Regions from separate parts of the Homo sapiens genome. Here region 2 is linked to region 1. Evidence: promoter capture Hi-C in 16 types of primary human blood cells and fetal thymus (Javierre and others, 2016). All regions are on one chromosome and are shown on one strand. The core of a region is centred on a gene start or on the middle of the fragment in contact, and the rest is flanking DNA. Distances in the headings are between cores, read along the strand shown. Region 1 holds the start of IQSEC3-AS3 (IQSEC3 antisense RNA 3). Region 2 holds the start of IQSEC3-AS2 (IQSEC3 antisense RNA 2).

What was found. The method cuts DNA at HindIII sites, captures the fragments that hold promoters and counts their contacts. A CHiCAGO score of 5 or more calls a contact.
Region 2: a fragment that was not itself captured here is called in contact with the fragment with the promoter of IQSEC3-AS3 in region 1 in 3 of 17 cell types (M2 macrophages, M1 macrophages and M0 macrophages); the score reaches 5.5 in M2 macrophages.

What each region holds. Positions count from the first base shown.
Region 1 is chr12:145,859-152,895 of GRCh38, reverse strand. It overlaps IQSEC3-AS3 (IQSEC3 antisense RNA 3), which reads left to right and starts at 3,727. Exons shown (of 10, transcript NR_033859.2): 1 at 3,727-3,817. The region is part of intron 5 of IQSEC3 (IQ motif and Sec7 domain ArfGEF 3); the gene reads right to left. RefSeq lists an enhancer at 6,730-7,037. The HindIII fragment of the contact is 4,344 bases long and covers 307-4,650 here.
Region 2 is chr12:106,416-113,452 of GRCh38, reverse strand. All of the region lies in intron 2 of IQSEC3 (IQ motif and Sec7 domain ArfGEF 3), which reads right to left. It overlaps IQSEC3-AS2 (IQSEC3 antisense RNA 2), which reads left to right and starts at 1,692. Exons shown (of 2, transcript NR_184284.1): 1 at 1,692-1,834; 2 at 6,576-6,929. The HindIII fragment of the contact is 4,546 bases long and covers 2,212-6,757 here.

The sequences.
Region 1 (7,037 bases), core at 2,478-4,977:
TAAAGAGCACCACACATTCCCGGGTGGTCTTTTCTGGTGTATCATCTCCCCATTTTACAGAAGACAAAACTAATGCCACGTAGGGCTGGCCCCATGCTCCCACAGCTAGGGAGAGCAGGCTTTCAGCTTCCTAATCTTGTGAGGCCTCTCCCTGCCCCACTGGGCTCTCTTCTCTTCACTCCTGTGTGTGTGTGGGGTGGCAGGGAGGTCCCTTACTCAAGTCGGGGGAGTTCCCTCTGAGCTCTCTGTACTGAGTATGGCTCTAAGTGCTTCACTATGTGTGCAATGACCTCATCTTCTCAAGCTTGTGCAATATGAACCATTGTACCATTATGTTTTTATTACATATGAGACTGAAGTACACTAGACAGCCAGCCCTACAGGCGTGCTGCACACATCTCATTCCTTGCTGACATCTCCTGGGGCAGGTGGTCCCCTGTGCCCTCCTCTCCCTCACCTCTCCCTGGCTCTCTGCTGCTCAGTGGCTGGCACTAATGCATGTCTTCCTAGGGGCTGTGATCTTACCCAGATGGCTTGGTGGGGACCTGTGAGAGGCCAAGGAGAAGCCCGTGGACACAGTTACACAGGAGAGCCTCTTGGTGCATGCGTGGGCAGTCAGCACGGGGGCTCTGTGGTCACCCTGCAGGTTCAGAGCTGGCCTGGGCACCTGGAGCCCACAGCAGGGTCCATATCGCTGACCTCCTGCCTTCCCCTTTCTGGTGCTTTTTGTGCCCTGTGGCAGTGGCTGGTTGACTCTTTCAGCAACGAGCACTGAGTGGCCCCGTGTGCAAGGCTGTGCTCGGGACCTGGTGTAAGTGGCCAGCAACACAGTCTCTGTCTTGGTGGGAGAGACAGGCATTGAACACAGAGTCAAAAATAATTCTTTACCTATAGTCATGATGAGTTCTATGTAGGGAAACGACGGTTCCAGGAGAGGACAAAGGAGATATATTTTATATTGTATGTCTGGAAAGGACTCTTTGGGGACATGGCATTTGAGCTGAGGCCTGAAAGATGAGTAGGAGGTGGCCAAAGGAAGGAGAGAGGGGAGAGCTGTCAGGTGGGCTAAGGGAGGAAGCATATGCAAAGGCTCACGGCAGGGAGGAGCTTCAAGGACCTAGGCAGGGTCCGCAAGGTTGCAGTGCAGACAGTAACAGGGAGAATGGTGACTGTGGGGCAGCAGCCAGGGCTCAGTCTGTCAGCTTTGTGGGTCATGAGAAGGATTTGGGAGTTTATCCTGAATGCACTGGGACACAATAGAGGGTATGATCAGAGGAGCGACAGGGTCCTGTTTGTTCTAAGAAGATTTCCCTGGCTGTTGGAGAGAAAATGAATGGCAGAGGGGCAGGGAAGAAGACAGAAGCAGGGGCCCAGTTAGGATGCTACTGCAGAGGTCCAAGCTACAGATAATGGGGCTTGGGCTAAGGCAGGAGCAGTGGAAACAAACTGAATGAATGATCCAGCTGCATCTTAGAGGAAGAACAGATGGGACTCGAGGTGCAGGGAATGTGGGAAGTGAGGAAAGGGAGGCATCACTGGTGCATCCTGGAGCTCTGGCTGGAGCACCCAGGGGCCTGGAGGTACCGTTCTCTAGTGTGAGTGTATCATGGTGCAGACACACGCTGGAGGAGAGACGGAGTCTCCATCTTGGGGCACACGAAGTCTGAGGTGTTCTTTCAGATAGCTACCGTGCCTCCCCTCTACTGAATCATCTCAGGAGAACCCAGGGGCCTGGAGGTACCATTCTCTAGTGTGAGTGTATCATGGTGCAGACACACGCTGGAGGAGAGACGGAGTCTCCATCTTGGGGCACACGAAGTTTGAGGTGTTCTTTCAGATAGCTACCGTGCCTCCCCTCTACTGAATCATCTCAGGAGCACCCAGGGGCCTGGAGGTACCGTTCTCTAGTGTGAGTGTATCATGGTGCAGACACATGCTGGAGAGACGGAGTCTCCATCTTGGGGCACACGAAGTTTGAGGTGTTCTTTCAGATAGCTACCACGCCTCCCCTCTACTGAATCATCCTCAGGAGCACCCAAGTGCTTGTCTTTTTCATCTTACAAATCAGAACCCTGCCTTGAGCCCTCGTTGCTCTCTAGACACTGCCTCTCTTCTCTCCTCTTTGCTGCCTCCACTTCCTCTTCTCCATTCACTCTTCAACCTGCTCCACTCAAGCATCCAACCCCAGGCACCATTAACACTTCTCTTGTCACGGCCATTGCTGGTTGCTATGTGGCCAAATCCAACGGCCTATCTCTGTCCTCATCCCAGCCCCTTGGCAGCATCGACATGGTTAATTGCTCCCTTCTGGAAACACCGTCTTCTTGGCTTCCATCACCCTCCCTCCCCAGGTGGACTCTTTCCTCTGGAGGAGCCCCTCATCCATTGCAGCTGCCCCTCCTCACTGACCTGAAACTGGGCCCTATCCCCCTCTCAACAACCACTGTCCAGGTGGCTGCCCCCATGCTAGTGGCTGCCCCCATTCCAGTGGCTCTAGCTAGCTAACAGTCTAACTTGCTTGAGTAAATATTTGACAATGTCTAGTTTGATAGATTCTTCAGATGAAATGTCCCTGAATCCAGCATCTCCCTGCCTCTGAAATGGAAAATCTGTACGTGTTTATTTGGTAGATGGAGTACCAACACAGGGGGCCTGAAGCACACGCGTATTCTGAATTCTCATCAGCTCGGAGACCACTGGCTGTGCGCTGGCTGCCTGGCTCCCTCCCACGTGGGCCATGGCCCTGCTGCTTCTCCACGGCCCTGGGCTCTGCCAACTTCTCCCCTCCCCATGCCCACAGCCGCAGTTTAGGGCTTCATCCTTTCTCATCATGGCTGTTAACAGCAGTAGCCTTCTCACCAGTCTCCCTGCCTCCAAACCATCTTCAGAGCCATCCTTCTAGGCTGCTAACTTGGCATCATAGCTCATGTCCCTGCTCACATTTCTCCCAGGGCTCCCCACATCCCTAGTGTGAAACCCAAGTTTCTCAGCAAAGCAAAGACGCCCTGTCTGCTTCCAGCTTCTCTCGCCGCTTCCCCAGCATGGTCCCCCCCTGCAGCCTGGCTCTCACGCCCCCACTTTGGTGCATGCTGTTATTTCTTCCTGCTGCCCAGCCCCAACCCTGCAGGTCTCTGTTTAGCTCTCATCCTCTCTAGGAGTCTTCCCTGACCTCCGTTGTCCCCGGAACCCACCTTCTGTCGACCATTGCGTTTATCTCCCTGTGTCATAACATTTGCCTGCCTGTCTTCCCCACGAGGCTACGGGCTCCTTCAAGATAGGGCAGTTATTTTAATCTCTGCCTCCCTGGTGTATGGGCACCCAATCACTGTTTTGTGGGATGAATGAATGAGTGAGTGAGAGATGACCAGGAATGACTGCATGCCGGCAGCTGGAGAAGGAGCCTCAGTGGCCTGTGCCTTTGGAAGTTCTACCCAACGGCCCAGGATTACTCAGCCTGCTTTGCTGCCAAGATTATCTGGAGCTGACACCGAGACCTGTGATGGACTTGCAAATGGCCCCGAGGCTTCCAGACTCCAGGCAGTGAGGCAGTGTGGAGGGCATAGGCCCCCTTCCTCCCACTGCACATGCAAGTGAGTGAGTGCTGAGAACTAGAGCAATGGGCACCGATTAGACCGCTTCCAGCCAGGCATGACCGGACCTGTCTCAGGAGGTGCTGCTGACGGGCGCGTGGATCACGAGTGGTACCGGTTTTGCTAAGGCCTCCCCCTCTTTCCTGTGAGCTTCTGCAAGGTCTGCAGCAAATACCTCACAAGCGTTGGGGAAAAAGGATGTATGTTCCCTGCCTCTGAAGAAACAGGTACAATCTTGCATAAAATTGCTTGTTAACATTGATCTGTGCGTGGAATCAGTTTGTGTTGCAGGGAAATGAAGCGTCCTACACGCCTGTGATCAAAATGAATTTCATCATCTCAACCTTCTTTTTTTTTTTTAATGATAGCAAGACAGTGTCTGGCAGACAAAGGAACTGGTTGGGAGCTGAAAATAGGTAATGGTAGCAGCAGGGATTTTTAATTGGCTGGAAGAGACGGCGAAGATCTGGAAGGTGAAGCCCTAGCTCGTGCTCCTGGCTGAGACTAAGCCCAGGTTTCAGGATTAGGAAGGAAATCTAAACCACCTATTGCCACGGAATGTAGAAACCCTGGCTTTATTTGGCAGTTGTTGGCTTCTACAATTCAATTAAAAATATCCCCATCCTCCAGAGAGTTATTTTATTCGTCAGAATTCATAACATGCTCAACAAAGGTCAAGGCGTTTTGGCAAAGTGCGATGCGGCTAAGAAAATAGAAGAGAAGGAAGCTGATGCAGGATCTGCCAGTGTTCCTGGTGATGTCATGAGGACGAAGAAACTCTCTTTTGAGGGGGCCTGGGTAGGGCTGGCTGCCACTCACACCTTGAGACTCAGGTACCCAAAGAACTAAGTTCAAACTACCCTTACAATTTAGAAGCCCTGAGCTGATTTTTCTTTTGCTGGGCTCGGCAGCATCCCTGTTTGCTGGTGGGTCTCAAACTGAGTGATGCATTGGAATTGCGTGGCGGGTTTATTAGTGCACGGATTGCTGGGCCCCGAGCCGCAGAGTCTGATTCAGTGGGCCTGGAGCGGGAACTGAGAGTTTGCATTGCTAACAAGCTTCCAGGTGAAGCTGACGCTGCTGGTCCAGGGACCACCTTTTGGAAGCACTGCTCTATGCCAATAACAGTGGGTGGATTAAGAAAAGGCCGTGGAGCTGTTACTTCAAGTCATGGAGCCTCTTGGTGGCTCATTTCCTCACCTTGAGAATGGAGACAACACTGAGAACATCTACTGGGCAGGGGTGTTATGAGTGTTAAAGGAGGCAGTGGGTGTGAAGTTCCTGGTATACAACAGGGCTTAATACATGATCATTTTCATTAGGTGTGGGCTGACCCGCCTGTCAGTGGACAGGACCCCTCCCTGCCCCACCGACTAATTCTGCCTGGAATTGTATCATTAGACAGCCATCCGTCGGCCCTTTAAGATATACATGCACCAGAGAGAGGAAGCTAAATCTGGCTCAGACCTCTTGAGACTTACGAATCAGTTTCTCAGCTGTGCTTTCTTCCCAAATTGAGAGGATCGGGGCATAGCAAATAACGCCAAGGTAAGAGGTGGGAGAGTACCTGATTTTGTTCAATTTCTCTGCCGCTGGCCAGGAGACTAGTCATTTCTTTTCCCCAGGGCCTCAGTTTCTGCCAGGGTAAAATGAGAGGGCTGGACCAGCTGATTGTCTAAGGGGTCTTCAGTGTCATGATTCATGATGGGGGACTGACAAGGACTGTGAGAGCAACCGGACCACAGGGGTCCTGGAATGACGCACGGAGGCTGGATGGTGCAGGGTTAAGGGCTCAGGTGATGAGTCATTGTGCCTGGCTTCAGACCTCAGCCACTGATCAGCTCTGTGACTGTGGGCAAGCTCCCCAACCTCTCTGTTCCTCAGTGCCTTCATTGGGTACAGATTAGCAGCACGTCCCTCCCGGAGTCGCTGTGAAGATGGAACGAGGTTTTGCATGTAAGCCTCTCAGAACAGCACCTGTGGCACACAGCACATGCTGATCTGTGTGAGCTGGCATAATATTTCACGGCCTGCTTGGTCACAAACGGCCCTCCTGGAGATATGACAGCCCTGCCCTGGAGACAGTGACACCCCGGAAGACCCTTCTAGAAGGCCCACGTCCGAGTGGCCTGTTGCAGCCACAGCTATCACACAGAGGAGACTGACTCCTCCAGAGCAAAGGCCTGAGTAGTCAGGGGAGGACTGGGTGGCAGGTAGGTCCATTTTTATATAAAAGTCCAATTTATATGCCAAAGTGACGAAGCCAAAGGGAGTCTCAATCCTGGACTGAAGGTCCCAAGGTCTCCAGCTACAGAAGTAAGTAGGTCTTAAACTCTCACAACTGTTGACTGTTCAGGAGAATCCCTTGTCTATCTGTGGTGGGAGTGGGGCAGGAGAGAGTGGAGAGGTGAAGGGTCAAGGCCATAACCCCAAAGACACCACTTTTGAAGATGTTCTCCTTCCAGCCTTCTGGTGCTGGCAGTGTACCGTTTCCAAAGCAGTGGAAATGACCCTAACTCTTCTATTCCTGCCTGCCTGCACTGGGTCTCTGTCTCTCTCTATCTATCTCTCTCTTTCTTCCTCCTCCCTCCCTCCCTCCCTTCCTCCCACTCTCCTCTCTCTCTCTCTTTCTCTCTTTCTTTCTTCTTTTTTGAGACAGGCTCCCACTCTGTTGTCCAGGCTTCCAGGCTAGAGTGCAGTGGCACGGTCACAACTCACTGCAGTTTCCATCTCCTGGGCTCAAGTGATTCCCCTGCCTTGGCCTCCCGAGTAGCTGGGACCACAGGTGCCCGCCACCACACCTGGCTACTTAAAAAAAATTTTTTTGTAGAGATGAGGTCTCTTTTGCCCAGGCTGGAGTGCAGTGGTGCCGTAAGAGCTCACAGTAGCCCTAACCTCCTAGGTTCAAGTGATTCTGATGCCTTGGCCTCCCAAAGTGCTGCGACCACAGGTGTGAGCCACAATCCCTGCCTGGGCCTCTTTTTATCTCCTCCGGACACATAAGGTCTGCCTGGGCCCCAGCCTGCTCTCCCCTTCCTCATGGGAATTCCTCAGGAATAAGGTAACTGAGATTATACACAGCAATGTGGGCAGGACATTCTCAAATGATTTCTTCCTAGCAATGAAAGGCCAGAGCCTTCCAGACTGTTGAATTTGACAGACAATCTGTCTTCATTTCTAAACGTCCTCTAAGAAGAACAAATCTGTTATACTCTGGCCAACATATTTCCATGGAAATAAAATAATGAAATCTGACCCAAACGTCAAACCCTGATATGTCTTGGAATTTAACAAAGGATGGAGCAGACGCAGTGGAGGGAAGGAACACCCAGGAAGCTTTCTTCCGGCAGCTCAACCCAGAAGCTGCCTTCCTGCATTTCATGGAGATGGTAGACACCAATGCTCTCCACGTGCATGGGATTCACACCAGAAAAAATCATCCAGGCC
Region 2 (7,037 bases), core at 3,235-5,734, 40 kb after region 1:
CTCTGCTCCACTGTTGCCCTCTCTTTGCATAGGCTCTGGTCTTAACCTCTGCCTGCTTCTACCTTTGTGACCTTCAACAAGTTGCTTATCTTCTCCGAGTATTTCCTCAGCTGTAAAATGGACACAGTGATTCTTGCCCTTCTGACTGTTTACAAGGTCAGAGGCTGAGGATCCTTGTGGTGAGAATCAAGTAAGCAGAAGGACAGAAGGAGTTCTGTAACTCGGAAAATGCAGTATCGATGCTGGTTGTTAAAACCCTCATCATTCCTATCATTTCTGTCCTTGGAGTGCAAGAAACTGCATCCAAGCCCAGGATAAACGCTAAGAGCTGCCAGCATGGAGGGAAGGAAGTGGGGGCCAGGCTGTTCCCCGTGGCATTCCGGGGGCACTTCCCAGTGTCCAGGCCGCACTGCCCAAGACGAATGGAGAAGAGGGACAATGAGAGGCGATCCTCTGCAGGACTATGAGTGGGGTGAAATTCTTCTCCTTTTTGAAACTGCCTTGTTTCAAAATAATAATAATAAATATTAATAATAAAATATTATGATAATATTTTTACAATAATAAGTGAAATGTAGGAAAAAAAACAGTGCACAGGCCTACAGAGGGCTTCCCTTGCCATGCTCTTTTGCTCCAATACTGCATTTCACCAGAGGGTCAACATTCGCACCCCACCACCTGCCATTTGTTTTGCTTTGCAATTGCCCTGGGTCTCTCCATGAGCAGGTCCCATCCCTGGCCATGCAGAATGCCTTCTTACAGAATCCCTGGTAGAGGGCCTTGGGGATTAGACAGTGCAACCCCTCATGCTATGGTTGAGGAAGCTGGGGCCCAGAGAAGAGGGGGATGCCTTGTGCCTTGTCTAGGTCAGTGTGGTGGAAGCACCAGCTTCTTCTGGAAGCCCAGGTGCTGCCTGGGTCTGCCCTTCCCCTCGGCTCCCTTCCAAATCCCAAGCTTCTAGGTCACACGACACTTTCTCTTACTCCCCTGGCTCTTTGAAGGAAATAATGTATACAGTGGGCCATTTCCAGGATGAAGTGCCTGAATTGGCTTAGGTCAGCAAACTACAGAAGAAACAGGATACACTAGGCCCCTGCTTGGATAGCTGATGCCTGCTTCTCGGCCTCCCCCACTTCCCCACCATCCCCCTTCCCCCCACTTCCCCACTCCTTAGTTGCCCTCCCCGAACCAAAGAAGTTTAGTCTAAGATGAAAGTTTACTAGCCTACAAAATAGTTCATTTTGTTTGTTCTTATCAGCCTGCCCAGCTACTTCGGTCATAAATCAAATACTTTATGAGCCCCTGAGCTAGCTAGGATTGCAATGCATTGTGGGCTGCAACAAAATGGAGCAAAACAACCCTAAAAAACCACCTACAGCCCCTGCCCAGCAATGAACAGGCATCATCCGGGAAGATTGTAACCCATAATACTCAGCCTATGAGGAACCAGGGGAGAGACCTGTGCACTAGGGGATAAACTGCTTGTTGAAACTGTGCTGGGTGTGCCTGCTCAAGAGACACCCGATTTTGCAAGACCGTCATCACAAGTCTCACTTTCGCTGTTCTCTGGGTCTCTGAGTCCATTCTTTGGGTTTGGACGGGTGAGTCTGTTTCTCACAACCTGGTGGCCCATATGGGGATTTCCATGCCTGCATGGAGTGAGACTCCAGCTGACAGGGGAGATGTGTCCCACTCGATTTGTGTGGCCCACTCTGTCCAGGTGTCTCAGCTCCCCGAAGAAGCCATAGACAAACCTGAAACTGTTATTCAGGAGACAACTAAAGTGACACAGGGAGAAAAGCAGGCAACCAGGCAACCTCACGCATGAGCCAAGGTAGGAAAATTGATCTGTAAGTACTGCTTGGTAGTTGTGCATTTTCGGAGGTCTTGGGGTGTGTAAGAAACCTCCAGTAAGGGAGGCTGAGTACACAGGGAAAAGCTCAGACACAGAGACTAACCAAAAATGGGAAACAAGAATTCTAGGCCTAGAGAACAGAGGAAAGAGGGAACTAAAGAGAACCCTTCTGACATTCCCCCAAATAGTCCGCTGGGGAGAATGCTGCAGGTTTGAAGGGATAGTCCTCAAACCAGGGACAAGGAAAAGCAAAAGATGATAAAGTTTGTTGTTTTATCTGGCCCAAAAAGCCCATTCGTCAACCTTTGGTCTTTTGGCCTGAGTTTGGCTCAGATGAGGATTGGGTGTGCCAAGCTTTAATTTTCTGTGAATAATAAAACTCCATCCTCACGAGAGGAGACAGGTTATGCTCTTTGTTGGATTAGTGAATTAACCCCCATGTTCCCCTTTAAAAAGAAGAAAAAGAGCATAGTAAAAAGCCCTCACCCAATGAAAAGCCCTGGGATCCCCTAACACGCTTGCCCCCCCATACATCTCAGGAAGAACAGAACAGGGCGATCGGGGGGCAGCAAGAAGGTCGGAGGAAGAGGAATCGGGGGGTCACGAAGAAGCTAAACCCAATGCTTCCTTAAATCCTTATCCAAACTAGAGGAAAGAATTAGAACAATGTAAGAAGGACATTGAGAATTTCCCCGTTCCTTCTAAACAGCAGATGTCTAACAGGTACCCTCTTAGAGAAGTCTCTACGGGACAGAGAGGAGTTGGGTTTGTTGGGTTTGTGAGTGTGCCTCTAGCAAGTACTGAGGTTCAGAATTCTAAAAAGAAAATGAGGCCACTCTGGGAAGACCCCCTCGGTTTAGCAGAGCAGCTAGATCAATTTTTATGACCCCATTTTTATACTTGGGCTAAGATAATGTCAATCATAAATATTCTGTTTCCTGGGGAAGAGAGGGGAATGATTATAAGGGCAGCCATGACCATTTGGGAGAGACCCCATTCTCCCGGGTAAGGAGTCCTGCCAGCTGAGCAGAAATTCCCAAATGCAAATCCCAGAGGGGATAACAATAACCTCAGAGATCAGGCCCCAGTGCAGGACCCAAGGGAACTAATAATTAAAGGGATTAAAAAGTCCACTCTTAGAACACAAAATGTCTTGAAAGCATTCGAGATCCAACAATAAAAAGAGAAGACTCCCTCCGCATTTCTGCAGAGGCTCAGGGATCAAATAAGAAAATATTCAGGATTAGGTCCAGAGCACCCAGTAGGGCAAGGCCTTTTAGGACTTAGTTCTGTGACAAAAGCTGGCCTGATATTACTAAGAAACTGCAAAAGATTGATAGGTGGAATGAAAAACCGATTAAGGAATTACTGAGGGAAGCTCAGAAGGTTTTTGTAAGAAGAAAGAAAAGAGAAACTGGAAAAGGGAGAAAGAGAAAAAGTAAAAAAGAAAATTGGAAAGACAAAGGGGAGGAAATGGCAAACATAGAGGGCCAGAGAGAGAAAGAGTTAAGCTGCTGACCCTGAAGGCAAGGGAGAGGCGGCCACACAACTGTGTGTGGAAGCTGGCTGCTGAAAGCTGTTGATAAAAGTTGTTGCTGAATCTTTGTTGTTTCGACAGAGCTGTCCATCTTTGCAGATTGTCAGGGGCCAGGGCCCAGCACAGTTTAGCTTGTGCCCAGAGAGAGAAAGAGAAAGAAACTAAGTGTGAGGGAAAAAGGAAACAGGATGATAGAGATAGATAGAAAAAGAAAACGAGCGAGAGCAAGAGACTGGAAAAGACAGATCAAAGAGAGACACCAAAGTTAAGACTGGGGAGAAAAATAATGCAAAAGGAAGAAAGAGTACAAGAGGAAGTGAGAGGATGTGGAGAGGTTGGCAGGGCTGGGGGAAGGTTCTAGAGGCTCAAGCAACAAGGAGGTGCTGGGAAAGGGTGCAGTGCGGCCACTGAGGAGGGACAGGGTCCGGGAACTGGGGGATGCAAGTGAGAAGGGGATGTGGAGGAGAGTTTAGGATCAGGCTGCCTGAGGAATAGTGGGTTGCGTACGGCAAAGACTAGATGGCTGTTTGTCAGGAGGGTGTAGAAAGGGTTCAGGATGTGGAAGGGTGAGTGGATGAGATGAGCATTAAGGTTTGCTGCTGTTTCACTGAGAGGCTGTGAGTCCACCAGGGGCAGCCGTCAGTAAGGCTGCAGAGAGGCCGGGGGGCTACATAAGGAAGATCCGAACTAGGGTTATAAACTCAAAGGACAACACGGCCAGCAAATGGTGAGAAGGAGGGCTGCAGGGCTGGATGGGGACTGTGGCTAACTGAAGAGGGCACACCTCTGCAGCTGCTCGACTGTTCTCACAGTGCCAGCCCTGTGTTGCCAGACTGTCTGCTTTGTCAGAGGCCAGAATTCTGACTTTTTATGTGAAACAGGATTTTTAAATGCTGGTGATCAGTTAAAAAAACTTAATAACCCAATACAGGTGATAGAAAATGCCAGTTTGCAATCCCTGAAGTAGAGAGAGCGCGTGCTGGGGAGAAGTCCGCCAGGATGCTTTGAGGTGGGGTGTATAAAAGTTCTGTTTCCCAGAGCTGGGCTGGGCCAAGGGGCGACCCTTGCAGCTGACGAAAAGCCACCAAGTCCCCTCCCAGAGCGGGACAAACCTGGGACCCTTTGCAGTTGCTGGGTCACCAGCAGGGGTGGCGTGGAATACAAACAGTGCAGCTCTCGGCCTGCCAGGGAGACGGATGGTGCCTTCAAAGCAAAGAAGGAGCCAGGGATGCCTTTGCTGATGAGAGTGCCCATCAGGGAAGGCACCACAGGCTGGCAGCTCTTCAAACCAGCAGCTGTTGGCCCAGAGCCAGACCCGGCAGAGCCCGGCTAAAGACACCCTGAAAGGCCAGCTGGTCAGCCCCTTGCCTCCTCAAGTTCCTCCTGGGGTCAGTGGGCCCTGGAAAGGCGCCTAAATGAACTCCAGTCAGTTTCTTACGGAAATGAGAGGAGAATAAGCAGGTATCAGACCATAACTGTTTACATATGATAGAATATCAAACCAAAGTTAGACCAGACCTTAAAGAAATTCCACTACTCGATGGAATGAGGCTGTTTGTGAATAGGCCATCCTGAGTGATAGATGGTAAAAGACACAATGTCCAGGCTGTCATTGATGGAAACAAACAAACCTTATGAGAAAAAGGTAGATTACCCAATAACTGCTCAGCCCAAACCTGTGAATTACATGCTCTTAACCAAGCCCTGAAGCTCATATAAGGCCAAGAAGGCACTGTATATGCTATTTCCAGATATGCCTATGGAGTAGTACACACCTTTGGAAAGATCTGGACAAAGTGGAGCCTAATAAATAGCAGGTAGAAAGAATTGGTATATGGGAAACTGGTCAAACAAGTTTTAAAAAGCCTCCTGCTTCCAGCAGAGGTAGCCATAGTTCATGTAAACGGCCATCAGAAAGGAAACTCTATAGAAGCTAGGGTTAGGGTTAGGGTTAGGGTTAGGGTTAGGGAACAGGCTTGTGGATAAAGCTGCTAAGCAGCCTCCCTGGAGGTAGAAGTTAAACTATTTGGCCTAATCCCAGATATCCCTAAGGTGGTATTAAAACCCCAACTTTCTGAAGAGGAGGAGGAAGAGCTGGGCAAGATAGGGCCACTCAAACTGAGGATGGGAGGTGGGTGCTCCCTGATGGGACCGAAATGATAAGCAAACTCACAAGGAGAGAACTGATATCCATACTCTGTAAGGGAGGTCACTGGGGTCCCCAGGCCATGTGTGATGCAATACTCAAGAATTACGGGTGTATAGGGATCTACACCCTTGTTAAACAAGTGTGTGGGTGTTATGTGACCTGCCAGAGAATAAACAAAAAGGTAGTTAGAAAACAGACTACCGGCCGGGCGCGGTGGCTCACGCCTGTAATCCCAGCACTTTGGGAGGCCGAGGTGGGCGGATCACGAGGTCAGGAGATCGAGACCATCCTGGCTAACACAGTGAAACCCCGTCTCTACTAAAAATACAAAAAAATTAGCCGGGCACGGTGGCGGGCACCTGTAGTCCCAGCTACTCGGGAGGCTGAGGCAGGAGAATGGCGTGAACCCGGGAGGCGGAGCTTGCAGTGAGCCGAGATTGTGCCACTGCACCCCAGCCTGAGCCACAGAGCAAGACTCCGTCTCAAAAAAAAAAAAAAAAAAAAAAAAAGAAAACAGACTACCGGAGGGAAACCTCCTGGGTTAAGGCCATTTCAAAGCATTCAAGTAGATTTTACAGAAATGTCCAAAATAGGGAGACTAACGTATCTGCTGGTAATGGTAGACCACCTCTCCAGGGTGGAGGCCTTCCCCTCCCAGCTGCCACTGCCGGGGATGTGGTCAAAATAATCTTAGAACAAATTATACCCAGATTTGGCCTGGTAGAAAATACTGATTCAGACAATGGGAGCCACTTTAACTTGAGGGTGCTAAAGGAATTATGGAAAGTGTCCCTGCTGGAGACAGCAACACACTCCAGTCTTTCTTCATAGGCAGCTGTCCTTCCTGTTTTGTTTTTTTAATCATAATAAAAGAAATCTCTAAAAACCTCGTTTCTTAAGCCATTCCATGGTCTCTTGAGGGCAGTAAAATGTCTTAAGAATGCCATATCTGATCAAATCACTCTTGCTATAGATTATTTCTTCGTTTTTGGTTTGATGAAACAAATTAAAAACCCTTTTTGTCATACAAACAGATACAAAATCATTTTTATGGTCATGTTATTGGTCAGAAGATAAGTGAATGGGTAAAGAACTTTCAGAAGAGAAAATAAAACAAAGCACAAGAAATAGTGGGATTAGAAAAATCTCTACGCCTACAAAGGTTACTCTTCCTGGAAGTGAGAAAAGAAGATACAAAAGATTCCAACAAGAAGCTTCCAGTAAATGAAACAAGAACATATTTCCCAGAAAACTGGATAAAACTGCATTACCGAATACCCTGGACTAGAGAAAGCTTAGATGTTCCTCGTGGCATCTCTCACTTGTTCTGGAAGTATTATCTTTAGTTAGGGGTATTTCCTTAACTAATAAAGCCTAGCATTGCTGTTGTTGCTGTTTCTGTCCCTAAAAATATTCTCTGCGTCACTCCTCTGGAGTCCACACATGGCCTCAAGGGGCAGGGCGGAGGGGCAGGGAAGAGAGGCCAGGCCTTTTGA